Linked DNA regions of Homo sapiens: region 1 is linked to region 2. Evidence: promoter capture Hi-C in 16 types of primary human blood cells and fetal thymus (Javierre and others, 2016). All regions are on one chromosome and are shown on one strand. The core of a region is centred on a gene start or on the middle of the fragment in contact, and the rest is flanking DNA. Distances in the headings are between cores, read along the strand shown. Region 1 overlaps KANSL1L (KAT8 regulatory NSL complex subunit 1 like). Region 2 holds the start of KANSL1L-AS1 (KANSL1L antisense RNA 1).

Evidence for each region. The method cuts DNA at HindIII sites, captures the fragments that hold promoters and counts their contacts. A CHiCAGO score of 5 or more calls a contact.
Region 1: a fragment that was not itself captured here is called in contact with the fragment with the promoter of KANSL1L-AS1 in region 2 in 1 of 17 cell types (neutrophils); the score reaches 6.4 in neutrophils.

The regions. Positions count from the first base shown.
Region 1 is chr2:210,082,808-210,089,546 of GRCh38, reverse strand. The region is part of intron 5 of KANSL1L (KAT8 regulatory NSL complex subunit 1 like); the gene reads left to right. It also overlaps the pseudogene RPL6P6. Among named protein-coding and RNA genes, the nearest start is that of KANSL1L-AS1, 56 kb to the right of the region's middle. The HindIII fragment of the contact is 3,201 bases long and covers 1,856-5,056 here.
Region 2 is chr2:210,028,672-210,036,164 of GRCh38, reverse strand. KANSL1L-AS1 (KANSL1L antisense RNA 1) reads right to left here and starts at 6,243. Exons shown (of 5, transcript NR_110291.1): 1 at 6,167-6,243; 2 at 4,658-4,698; 3 at 3,241-4,002; 4 at 921-1,009. KANSL1L (KAT8 regulatory NSL complex subunit 1 like) reads left to right here. Exons shown (of 15, transcript NM_152519.4): 9 at 4,619-4,744; 10 at 6,247-6,362; 11 at 7,196-7,320. The HindIII fragment of the contact is 1,781 bases long and covers 5,177-6,957 here.

The DNA.
Region 1 (6,739 bases), core at 2,207-4,706, 56 kb before region 2:
CACCTCACTTCTTTATTTTAAATTTAATGGAACGTATTTTCTAAAGTAGTTACTAGTGTTAATATTCTTCCATTTTAAATATTTATTTTAAGGAATTCTATTTTTTCAAACAAATACACAGTAAAAACATAAGGGTTCCAATCCAACCTAATATGTATATCTTTATAACATCACTGTTTTGCTCTTTTGGATGTAATAATTTTGTTAGCCTAAATCAAGAGAACTGGTAAATAGAGAGAAATTACTGTACTCAATGTGTCTTAGTGACTTCAAACCCTACCCTAGAAACTATATGGAAAGAGGTATCCGTGACAGTAAGATGATTGTGGATTCCACTTAAGTTCCAAAAACTTTTTCAATTAAACTGTTTGGGAAGAATTGTTTAAATAAAATGTATTACACATTGCCTTCTTTGGGTGGTATTGAACTTAATTTTCTCCCCAAAATGTATCAGTCATTTAATGAGATTCTGCTTAAGAAATTTAGGACACCCATTTGTGAGGGTAAATTCCATTCATCAGGGCAAACACAGATTGCAGGTAGCCCTGGAACTGAGGAATAGCTTTGATTGTTGGTAACATTTGCAGGTCCACAGCTTCCTGATCAACCTTACACTACTCTGTAATTTCATATGTCTCTTTTTTGGTGTTGAAAACCCCACCTTCCTGATGGCTGGGCTTCCACAGCTGCTGCTTCTTAAAGTAAGCATCAGTATGATGTTTGAGGATTTCATATTGCTGAGAGCAATTTTTGTGGAGGTGGCGATGGCAGATTTCTGGTGTGTTCCTCGTAGAGGAACTCGACTGAGGACCAGAGATCCAGTTACAGGTAACAAGCCAATGCCCACCTGCTTCAGGAAAATCACCTTCTTGCCTCTGTGGCGGCCAGTGAGGATGATCAGAGTGCTCCTGGGAGCTGGCTTGCAGTTTTCTCACATGCTAACTGGCTTGCAGTTATTTGCTGTGGCTCAACAGCTTTCAAGGCACGTCTTCCCTAAGATAATATCAAGGCAATTTGTGAAGTTTAATCACCTGGGTACCACTGTTCTTGTCACCGCCAACTGATTTTCTAATGGCTGCAAGAACCTCTTTCTGTTTTCAATCTTGGATTCATTGGGTGAGTATTTCCTTTTATGCATGTCTTTCCTAGAATACATAGCAGATCAGGCATATCTGCCAATTCTTCTGACAATTGACAGGATTTCGGCCTTTGGATTTTTAGCCTTGAAGTTACCCCTTTTCACCTTGCCACTAGTGTCAGCCTTCTTGCCTTCAGGCTTCTTCTCCTTAGTATCCGGCTTCTCAACTTTTTCACCTGCCATCTTGTAAGATGGGAAAGAGCTGAACTTAATTTTTTTGATAACTCAGGTTCACCACCATGATAACATTCTCAGGGGTTACTGAGATAAATAGCTGTATATCTATAAAACAATTCACTGAATAATTAACTAGTACCTACTGAGTGACTTCTGTGTGCCAGGCATTTGGATTGGATACCAGGTATATGATAATGAACAAAACCAGATGGAATTTCTATCTTTGTGATATAAAGTCTAGTTGTGAAAAAAAAATGACACCACCTAAATGATCACACAAATGTATAATTTTAAACCTTGATCAAGTGCTATGAAGAAAATTTTTATTGTTAAGAATATTACTTTGGAATTAGATCACGGTTCAATCCCAAATTGACCAATTGGTAGTATTGATCCTGCACGGCAATCTGAATTAGATAGAATGAGAACAGCCTGTTTTCTGGGTTGTGTTGTGAAGATCAAATGAGGTAACAAATGTGATGTTATTTTGTTAATTTTTTACGTGCTTATTATCTGTCTTCCTGGACTTGAACATAAGCTTCAGGAGAGTAAGAATTTTTTGGTCTATCTTACTGAACTGTTGTTTTCCTTAGTACTTGGATCAGAGAGTCACATCATGGGCATGAATTAATATTTGTTGAATGAATGAAATGTTGTTCATGATTTCTTGCCCATACTCAGCATTCATAAGGAATATTTTGTACTTAACGTATTTTTTCTTCCCTATAGTCAGATTGATATTCTATTTGTTGCTTTCGTGGCTGTCTCCTGCAGTTCTGCTTCTCTTCCTAATTTGACTCTGGACTAGAAAATCAGATAACCAATGTGATAGATGACATAGATGTCTCTGTAATAAGAGATATTTAAAAAAATCTGTAAGAGAGAAGGCCTCTCTTAAAAGCAACAAGAGGATGGCCAGGCATGATGGCTCATGCCTGTTAATTCCAATAATTTGAGAGGCTGATGCAGGAGGATCACCAGCAGTTCAAATCCAGCTTGGGCAACATAGGAAGACTCCATGTCTACAAAAATTAAAAAAGTGAGCCAGATGTGTTGATGCATGTGGTCTCAGCTGCTTGGGACGCTGAGGTGGGAGGATTGCTTGGTCCCAGGAGGTCAGGGCTGCAGTGAGCCGTGACCATGCCACTGCACTCCAGCCTAGGTGACAGAGCAAGATCCTGTCTCAAAAAAAAAAAAATAAAATAAAAAATAAAAAAAGGAACAGGAGTGAACTTTCATGCATAAACTTACTGAGATCTCTTTTTGTTATTTAAAGGCCTTTTAAACATTTCAGCTACATTCTATATATATAGTTGATGTTGCCAGATAAGGAAACTCATAAATGAAATGTTACAGTTCTTCTAATAAAGCATGCTTATTATAGCTTTATATCACATTATATCATAATTCTTGTATATAATTAGGTTAGAAGAAATTTAAATTTTTAATTTTTAAAGGTTAGCCTCATTCTATATACTAATTTTTGTGGATCATATAGAACTTTTGTTTGATATAATTCTCTTAAGTATTTAAGTATTAACTCATACTTAAATATGAATTCTTCATAATTTTAAGTATTAATGGTAATGATCTGTCCTCACAGTGCATTTAAAGTAAACTTACCTGGTTAATTATTTCCCAGGGCATGTTTGCACACTTGCTATTTATTGATTACTAACTCCTATCTTTTATTTAATAACAATATCGCCTAGAAAAGTGTCAAGAGTTTTTTTTTTTTTTAGCTTTATTAATCTTGGCAGTATGGTCTCAGATGACTCACCAGGAACTGTGCAACTAAGAAGATTGAGTCTTCAAACAAATGAAGCATTACATTTTATTATCATAGGGATAGTTTTTGGTTTTCAGATCTCATACTCTAAAATGAAGATAAAATGTTATAAATTAATCCTTGTTTATCCCATGGGGTATTATCTTTGAGAAAGTGAATTCCTACTTGAAATAGTGTCTAGATTTTTGTCATTGTTTGTTTTGTTTTTGCTTTAATGAGTCCCAGAATATGACATGAAATTAAATTCCGATGAATTATTGCCATGCTATTTATTTCTACTAATGATAATTATCTCATGTGACATGCAACTATCCTTTCTTAATTGGATATCATAATTGAAAAACTGCAGTTAGGCTGGCAAACTAATCACATAAAAAGTAAATTTTTTACCCTCAATATTTTCAATAGTCACTTCTCAATTATGAGAAAACATTGTTTGTTAGAAGCATATTCTAAGTTGATGTTTTCAGTATAATTTTGGATTCCTGTGAATGACAATATTATATATAATAATTATTAATAAATATTTAATTACAATAAATATATACATAGTTTACTTTTTCCTTTATAACTCTAATATAAGCCTAAAACCTAATATTATATAAGTGAATATATTAATAAATTGTGGTACAACCACTAGATCTAATATCATGTAACTATACAAAATTATGTATGTAGAAAATATATAATCATATGGAAACATGCTTATATTGAAATATTAAGTGGAAAAATGCGGACACTAAAATTATAGTACAGTATGATTTTATAGAAAAAAGATGTGAAGGGTATAAATGAAAACTATATTTCTGTTGAGAAGATGGGATTTTGAAAAATATTTCAGCTTTTATTCAAGTTTTTTTGTATTTTTGTTTTCCTTAAAATATAAAATAGAAATTATCTGTAAGTGCCTCAGATCAGACAAATATTTGACAAACTTTATGTCTCAATTATCAGGTAGAAAAGTATGGCTATCATATTGGTTTCCTCGTCTCTTTGCCTTTATGTGTTAAAAAGTCCCACTTTAAGTTAAGAGCCAGAGATAAGAATGACAGATAGTTCTGTAATAATTGGTATTTTCCCCCATCTACTCTTATTGTGGAAAACTTCAGACATATAGAAAGCATAGTAAAGTGAACCCACATATTCTCAGCTTTAACAGTTTTCAAAATTTTGCTAATTCTTTTGTTATTCCTTTTCCTGACACACTTTCTTTTTCTAGGCATTTGTAAAGCAGTTTCTAGTGATTGTTATTTTAACTATAAATAGTTCTTTATATTTCATTGATAAGCCTTTTAACATACCTACCACTTTATTATCACATTTAATACTGTTAACCATAATTTGTTAGTCTTGAAATTCTCTATCCATATTCAAATTTCTGCTTGTCTCAAAATTATCTTTTTATGATTAATTTGTTAAAACCTGTATCCGAAGTCCATAAATTACATTTGGTTATTATGTCTCCTAAGTCTCTTTTATTTTCAATAGCCATTTCAAAATGTATTAGACATCCTAATAAAAGAGAAAAAAAAAGGCTGGGCATGGTGGCTTATGCCTGTAATCCCAGCACTTTGGGAGGCCGAGGCGGGTGGATCATGAGGTCAAGAGATCGAGACCATCCTGGCCAACATGGTGAAACCCCATCTCTACTAAAAACAAAAATTACCTCGGCGTGGTGGCACATACCTGTAGTCCCAGCTACTTGGGAGGCTGAGGCAGGAGAATTGCTTGATCCTGGGAGCCGGAGGTTGCAGTGAGCCGAGATCGTGCCAATGCACTCCAGCCTGGCGACAAAGTGAGACTGTGTCTCAAAAAAGAGAGAGAAAAAAAAAAGAAATCACTATATTGCTCAGAGTATATTTTCTTGCCATCTTTTTAATATAGTCTTTTCATAGTTTAGATCTATTAGAAGTAATTTTATATCTTTTTCAGTTAATATTATATCTGAAGCTTTTTATACTTAAAATAGTTATTTCCCACTTCAGTACCTACAGTAAGATGGATCTTAATTTTTCTTTCTAAGACGGAGTCTCGCTCTTGTTGCCCAGACTGGAGTGCAGTGGTGCGATCTCGGCTCACTGCAACCTCCATTTCCTGGGTTCAAGCGATTTTCCTGCTTCAGCCTCCTGAACAGCTAGGATTACAGGTGCCCGCCATCACACCTGGCAAATTTTTGTATTTTTAGTAGAGACGGGGTTTCACCATGCTGGCCAGGCTGGTCTCGAACTCCTGACCTCAGGCAATCTGCTTGTGTCGGCCTCCCAAAGTGCTGGGATTACAGGCATGAGCCACTGCGCCCAGCCTTAATTTTTTTAGATACTACATCTTATTTTTAAAGAATGTCATTTTACAGTGTACTACAACACATTTTCTTATTGTTAGAGTTGAAGAGACTTCCATTTTTGAGTAAGAGATGTAGTTTCTCTACTTATTACCCAGAGTAAGGGAAATGGTCTAGGAACTGTTTTCTCTATACCAGGCAATGCCAGATCTTGATCTATTTGATCATTTGAGAGAGGTATTTACTTTTGCCAATTGGAGGATAAATAATCCTCCTATTAAGTTTAAGTCTTATTTTTTATTAGTTTCTTACTTTTTTTTTTTTTTTTTTTTGAGATGGAGTCTCACTCTGTCGCCCAGGGCTGGAGTGCAGTGGCATGATCTCGGCTCACTGCAAGCTCTGCCTCCCGGGTTCATGCCATTTTCCTGCCTCAGCCTCCCAAGTAGCTGGGACTACAGATGCCCACCACCTCGCCCGGCTAATTTTTTTGTATGTTTAGTAGAGACGGGGTTTCACCGTGTTAGCCAGGATGGTCTCGATCTCCTAACCTCGTGATCCACCCAAATTTGATTACTGCCATCCTAAATGCCATTGGGTTATCTGAATATGTGATGCATTCGTATCTCCCAGTACTATCAAGGATAAAGGAGGTAATAAATTCAGATATTGGCAGGACTTTGTGTAGTAGGGAAAGTATGGAAAAGGTTGCTGCCTACCTTAGTTACAATAGGTTGAATTCATCAAAGGACTTCCAACTGGAAAAGGAGAAACTTGAAATAGAGATTACAAGTCATGCAATAACTATGATTCTTAGGTGCATATGTTTATGGATATATTAGTTTCCTAGGGCCGCTGTATTTTAAGCCACTAATTTTGTGGCTTAAAATAACAGGTGTTTCTTATTACACAGTTCTGGAGGCTAGAAGTTCAAAATTAAGGTGTCAAGATCATACTTCCTGTGAAGGTTCTAGGGAATCCTTCTTTGCCTCTTCCTAGCTTCTGGTGGTTGCCTGCAGTTCCTTGACTTTCCTTGTAAGACATACACACATCACTCCAAACTCTGCCTCTATCTTTACATGGCATTCTTTGTGTGTCTCTTCTTGTAAGGAAATCACTGATTTGATTTAGGGCTCATCCTCATCCAGTGTGTCCTCATCTTAACTAATCACATTTGCCAAGTATTTCCAAATAATGTTACATTCTGAGGTTCTGGGTAGACATGAGCTTTGAGGAGACACTATTCAACCCAGTTTAGTGGGTGTGGGCATTTGTGTATAGTTTTATGGGTGGAGGGGGACACCTAGGAAACTATCATAATCTCTGTGAGAATGCACATTCTAATTTTCTTCAGAGT
Region 2 (7,493 bases), core at 4,994-7,493:
GTATGTAACTACTTAGAAGGCAGAAAAAGAGAGGTTCAGGGAGATGAGAAATGGGCAAGGAGAGGAACTCCAGAAAGTTGGTGATGCCTAAGTGCAGCTTCGACTACTTAATTGGAATTTACAGAGAAAGAAGGGTGGAGCGTTCCAGATTAGTGCTTCTCAAACTTTAAAATGTAAGCAAGTTACTTCGGGGATATTGTTAGAATGCAGAGTCTGATTTAGTAAGTCTGGAATGGGACCTGAAATTCTGCATTTCTAACAAGGTCCCAGGTGATTCAGATGCTGTTGGCCCATACTGAGTAACAAGTCTTTAAATAACAAAAACAAACATATGTCTTGTCATGGAGACATGACACAGTATGATATATTCAAATATCTATAAATAAGGCCAGGCACAGTGGCTCACGCCTGTAATCCTACCACTTTGGGAGGCTGAGGCAGGTGGATCACCTGAGGTCAGGAGTTTAAGACCAGCCTTGGCAACATGGTGAAACCCCGTCTGTACTAAAAATACAAAGGCTAGCTGAGGGTGGTGGTGCACACCTGTGGTCCCAGCTACTCGGGAGGCTGAGGCACAAGAATCACTTGAACCCAGGAGGCAGACGTGTAGTGAGCCGAAATGGCGCCACTGCACTCCAGCCTGGGTAACAGAGTGAGACTTCATCTCAAAACAAACAAACAACAACAAATATCTACAAATAACTTGGCATTCCTGTAGGGTAAGTTGTGTGAAGGCAGTAGACAGATCTTTGCTTGGATTTATCCTGTATGGTCCATTAGATTTGGCAGTTTACAATGGCATTGCTGATTTCAGGCAACAAGCAGAGAAAAGCCAAACTGTAGTGGGTTGAAAAGTGAATGGATGACTAGTTTAATCATGAGGAATACCAGACAAAACCAATTTAAGGGTTTATACTTACCAAAATGTTCAAAGTTATGAAAGTTATGGAAGACAGTGGAACTGTTTCAGATATAAGACCTTAATGAGATCTGACAACTGCAATGCCATCTGCAATGAATAGTTGAAATTATCTGTAAATAACATTATAGAGATATTGGTGAAATCTGAATAAGGTCTATAGATTAGCTAATGGTACTGAACTGCATGGCTACATAAGAGAATGTCCTTTGTTTTGAGAAATACACATTGATGTATTTAGGGCTAAAGGGGCATCATGTCAGCAACTAAATTTCATTTGTGGTCTGAAAGAAGGAGGTAAAGCAAATGTGATACGATGTTAACATTTGGGGGATTTCAGAAAAGGGTATACAGAAATTTTTTGTTCTATTTCAAGTTTTCTGTAATTCTGAAATTAGGTCTCAGATAGATGGAAGAGGAGGAACAATAGCACCATAACCCACACAAGCAAGCCAGAAACATAGAGCTCAGTCTTTGTCACCCACACTTCCTCCAACTTGGTCTAAACCAATTGCCAAGTTGTCAATATGATCTTATGTGTTTGAGTTCCTTTTGTGCCTTCGACTACTCTCACAGTCCAACATGATCTCTTATCTATACTGCTGAAATAGACTTTTAATCCATTTTTCCCTTTAATCACTGTAGGCAGTGACCTCCTCAAAATGCAAATCTAATGTCACACCTGCTCCCCACCCCATCCCTTTAAATCATTCGAGAAGGAATATTCTTAACACCTTAAAGCCCTATCTACATAGGCTGGCTCCTCCCTCATGATTCTTTCTCACCATGCTTCCTTACTCTACAGTACATAGCTGTTCAGTTCCCAAATTTGTCCTGTTCCCTTGGGCCATTGTACATGCTATTCTCCTCCTTCCCCTAGCTATCAGCTATTTCTGTTCATATTTGGAGTCTGTCACTTCATCTGGGGAAGCCTTTCCTAGAGCTCTTACTAGCACTCTTATACATTCTCAGTAACATCATGTAGTTTCACAACTGAAATGAATATTTTCCTATCACATTACAATTGCATTCCTTAACACCTGTAAACGACAAGGGCTGCTACAAATCCTAGTTTTGCTTACCTAGGGTTTAGAATAATGCTTGCCATGTAATTGGTTCTCTGTAAAGTTGTTGTTGGATGAATAAAAGGGAAGGAAGTAAAGACAGGATATATGAGAAATGCTATGAAAGTGTGATCTTAGGATGAACTCTAGGAGAGGATTGGGAGAGCAAGAACTGAAAGGCTGGGAGGTTTATCAATAGAACAGGTGAAGAGGATGTGTAGAATTGTCATACATTTCCTACGGTTTCAAGGGTCCATGAAAACCTTACAAGACAGTAACGAATTAGAAGGAAAATAAATGTGAAAAAAACATTTGAATAAAATTTAATTTAAAAATCAACTTTTGGCCGGGCGCGGTGGCTCACGCCTGTAATCCCAGCACTTTGGGAGGCTGAGGCGGGCGGATCACGAGGTGAGGAGATCGAGACCATCCTGGATAACACGGTGAAACCCCGTCTCTACTAAAAATACAAAAAAAAAAAAAAAATAGCCGGGCGTGGTGGCAGCCACCTGTAGTCCCAGCTACTCGGGAGGCTGAGGCAGGAGAATGGCGTGAACCCGGGAGGCGGAGTTTGCAGTGAGCCGAGATCGCGCCACTGCACTCCAGCCTGGGAGACAGAGCGAGACTCCGTCTCAAAAAAAAAATCAACTTTTGTGAAAGTTGATTCCTTCACAAAATTTGATGTTTTCAGAAGAGTGGAGAATTGCTTGTAGAAAATAAGAGAAACGTTAATTGTCTATGATTTGCTTAAATGCTACAGCAAAATGTTATTAAAAGAATGGACACTTTTAACACCTACACACGTTTTAACACACACATACATTTTAAAATCCACCTCTCACAATTCTAGTTACCATTTTAGTACGTTTAGATTACTCCTGCCATGCTGTTTTCTTGTATTAATAACTTTCAGGGTATTATCATCTGTGATGCATTTATGATTTTTCATTTGCTGTTTGACATGCAAGTGCATCGTTGAAATCTTAGGGTTTAATATTGATTCTGGAAAACACTTCAGCTATCACTTCTTCAACTATTCCCTCCTTTTCACTCTTTCTAGTCTCATCTTGTTACCCCATTGCGGTCTTTTTCCCTCCATATTTTCTATCACTCTGTTCCATCAAGTTATGGAATTCCTCTTCCAGACCCTGATTTTGATTTTCAGCTGTGTCCATTCTGTTTCTTAGCCTAGTGATGATTTTAACATTTGAACAATTACATTTTCTATTTCTGACATTTCTCCAGAGGGCCTCTTACCTGTTTCTCTTGGCAATACTGTTTTAAAGAGTTGCTAATCTGTATTCCATGAATGCTTCATTATTTCTTGAGATGGTTCTTCCACTTGTGGTTTGTACCTCTTTTTTGATTGTGTTGGTATTCAGATTTTTGGAGTTTTCTATACTCATCATTGAAGCTGTGATACTCAGTTAAAACTCTTCTACCACTGCTGTTTATGGGACACTTTTGATGGGAAGGGAATTTATACAACATTTGAAATTTTCAGACTAATTTGGGGATGGGCGGGACATTTCAAAGCAGGGCACCTGGGCATTGCCTTCTCTCTCCAACCATTCATTTCTCTGCCTAAAGCTCTGATTCTGTTAGTCTGACTGAGATATTGGCATGTGCAGTCAATATCCAGATAGTTGTCCTGCTCCCAGTTTTCCTTTCTTGTGGGTCTAGAGCACCTTTAGTGGCGTCACACATCTTTGTGGCAGTACTTCACTATGTGCTTCTGCTCTGGGTTTCCTCTTCAAATTCCATATAGTATTAGTCTTTTAGAGATTCCTCAGAAATTCTGCTTTACAGGTTCCACTTTTTGCTTGCAAATGTGGATTTATATGTGCCTATCTGTGCATGTACCTATGTAAAACGTATTTGTCTATCATGTTTAGGGTCATTTGCCATCTTGAAACCAGACACTCCTTGTCAGCTGGTAGGCCATGCCCTTTATTTCAGTGTGAGTTTGGCACTTCAGCTTACATATTTCTTTTTCCACTCCTTTCCACATCTCCAAACCTTTCAAAAAAAGAAGCCAATTTGGTTGTTAGACCAAGGCTGGAAATAAGGGGGTTCAGATATACAATCATGATAACGCTAACATTTACTGCACACTTATCACATCAGACACTTTTACTTACTACTACAGGAATAAACTCATGTAATCATTATCCAAGGTCGCTGCTATTATCCCTATTTTACAGATGATGCAACTAAGGCATCAGAGATATTAAATGATTCTGGTTCTTGCTCGCACAGTCTAGTCTGACCATGTTGAATCTTACTTGGTCCCAACTTATTTCCAGATTTAAAGGTAAGCAAGAACTTAAAGATTCTGATCGCCAAGATTTATATATCTGAGCCAATCCTCACTCTATCAAGTTTCTGTAATTTGGAAGACTTTGAGAACAGATCATCTTCCCTTTTCATCCCCCTCAAAAAAATGGAGAAAATATAAGAAACTGGAAATTCCTGGGGATGTTTTTAGTTGGAGTTGTGTGTCTTGGTATTTATGTTTATCTGTAATTTTGAACTGGTATCTTAAAATTCTGCAGTTACAAATAAAAACAGATTGACATGTTCACTGTCTGTGTTAAGGAACTAAAACTTAATATTTCCTTTTCATTTGTTTTAGTACATAGTACTCTGAATCAATGGAGAAATGGATATTCACCTATATGTAAGCCTCAAATAAGGTCAGAATCTTCTGCACAACTGTTACAGGGAAGAAAGAAAAGACATTTGAGTGAAACAGCATTAGGTAGGTTAAAGTGAGGATATAAGCAGTAGTGATAAATATTAAAAATTAAAAATTCTGATTTTAAAATAACCTCTCATGGGAGTTTATAATCCAGAACAGCCACTAATAACACAAAACATCTATGAGTCTACAAACATGAAACAGCATATTCGTAGTTAATTTAGAATTATTTGTGGACTGGTATCTACCCACTTTATGGCAATTAAGTATTTCCCTCCTATGTTCCCTGACTAGTTGTCTTCTACCAATCAGTCCCTGGATGGGATTTAATCTTCAAAGTTGTGTTCTATGCTCAAAATAGGCTAGTGCAAAGTTGCCTTACAGAAACTGTTAACCATTTATGGTACCTACTGTGGAGATGTTGATGCACTGCAGATTCCTCAGGATTTTGAGAAAGTCAACAAGATTCAACTTATATATATATATAAAGCTTTAAAAACATCTAATAAGATGCAACATGAAGTATACATTACCTAAGATATAAAATGTTTCACTTAAATTGACTGACACTTTAGATCTAACTTCAAGTTTGATGTACATACAGGAATAAAATAAAGAAATGTCATACTACAAATAAATAACTAGACAATTCCAAAAGGGTAGGACATCTGGTCCAGCCTGTCAAAAGTCAATGTAATGAAAAATGATTTATTCTAGACTATAAGAAACCTAGGAGACAATGGCCAATTTTTATATATAGATCCTTATCTGAAGAAACTAGCTATAAAGGACTTTTTTTTAACAAATGGAGATATTTAAATATGGACTGGGTATTAGATTTTATATTATGCAGGAAATATTCTCATTTTAAAACACTTGTACTAAAATAAGGGCAGTAAGTAAACGCATACATATATATATTTACTACACACACACACACACACAGTAACTGGGAACCAAAACAGGAAAAAAAAAAAAAAAGAACTTGGAAGATATACAGAAAATACTAACAGAAGTAAACTTCTAATCAATATCCTGAGAGATATGAGAAATTTCATCTATGAAACAAGAACAGGATGCTGTTTTAAAAAAAGAGTACCAGAGAACAAGTACTTTCGGAAACATGTACTTATAATAGCAGAATTTTTTCAAAAAATTAAGAGTGTTCAGAAGACCAAGGACAGATACCTCACATAAATTAGGATAAAAAGTCAGATATGAAAAATGAGATTAGATAAGAAAATTAAGATAGTTCTGGTGGTTCAACTATGAATAGGAGTCACAGGAAACAAGAATAAAGGGATGAGATGAGGGATTATTCAGGGAACAATAAGAAATATATTCGATAAAAACTGCCAAAGCCCCAGAAAATGGAAATAACTTGTGGCATGACTGCAAGTAAGGCTCCTCTTTTTTCATTTCCTTTTTTGTTTTCTAATACACGAATTTAAACACACACACACAAAACAAGGAATCAATCACCTGTCATCTAATTAGGAAAGTAATTCTAATGATATTAGACTTGTTTAATGTGTAACATTCAATGGTTCTTTCCATGGCAGGAGAAAGAACTAAACTTGAAGAATCTGATTTTCAACACACAGAATCAGGATCCCATAGCAATTTTACTGCTGTTTCCAATGTCAACGTTTTATCAAGAATCCAGAATTCATCACGAGTAGGTTTTTCCATATGTTGAACTCTAAAATAGCTTTAAAAATAAAAACACCTGATTTTGAAAATAATTTATATTTTGCTAATCTATAACAGCCTTACTAGCACATATTAACAGACATTTATAACTATCTTGTTAGAAAACAATATATTTGATTCATACAACTTATTTTTAACTATGAAGCTAAAAGTTCATTAATATTTGGTTATAGCTTCTTTTTATGTGTTAAAAATTTAAACATTATCATGATCATCTCTATTCCTTAACATATTAAGCTAAATAAAGTCTTACTAATGAGAATTCAGGACTTTCTTGTTCTTGTCCTGTTTTTTGTTTGTTTGTTTGTTTTTTTGTTATCTGGCCAGGGAATAGAGAGGTCAAAAGGTGGGAGGGTTTAGAAATGAATTCCGAAACTCAGGAACCAGGAATGCATAAATGAAGAGTATACTGAAGGGCTGACCAAAAATGTTTCACTGCCTTTCCTAATAAAAAGTGGTTACTGATCATTTTCATTGACATTTAGGGTGATGTATGTTGGTCTTTTCTGATAAAGAGTTTTGCATTTAAGACCTATTTTTTGTGGTCTTAAAAATAAGCTTGTATGCTTGCACACATAAATACACATTACACATCTACCAAGAGATTGTTCTGATTTACAAAAGATAGAAAAATGTTTTATTTTTTGGTTTTCTTAACATTTTTTAGTCAGACTTTATAACAATGTATTTACAAAAATTATGTAACGTGTACTGCCATATTTACATAACTGATGAAAGGAGGGTATCATTACAAGTAACTAGACAGTACTGTAAATCTACTGTAATCCTGTTTTGCAGAATACTGCACGACGGAGATTGAGAAGTGAGAGCTCTTATGACATAGATAACATTGTGATTCCCATGTCATTAGTAGCCCCAGCTAAATTAGAGAAACTCCAATATAAGGAAATACTTACTCCAAGGTATGTATACTTACATCTTCATATTTTTCTTCCTTCCTTCCCTAATAAACTTAAATTTTCAAAGTGAAGAATTTTAATTAATGAAAGGAGCATCCTTCTCCCAGTTCCTTCATAGCCATGGAGGGGAAACGGTGAAAAAAAAATTACTCGTGCCTTAAGTGTTATATAGTATC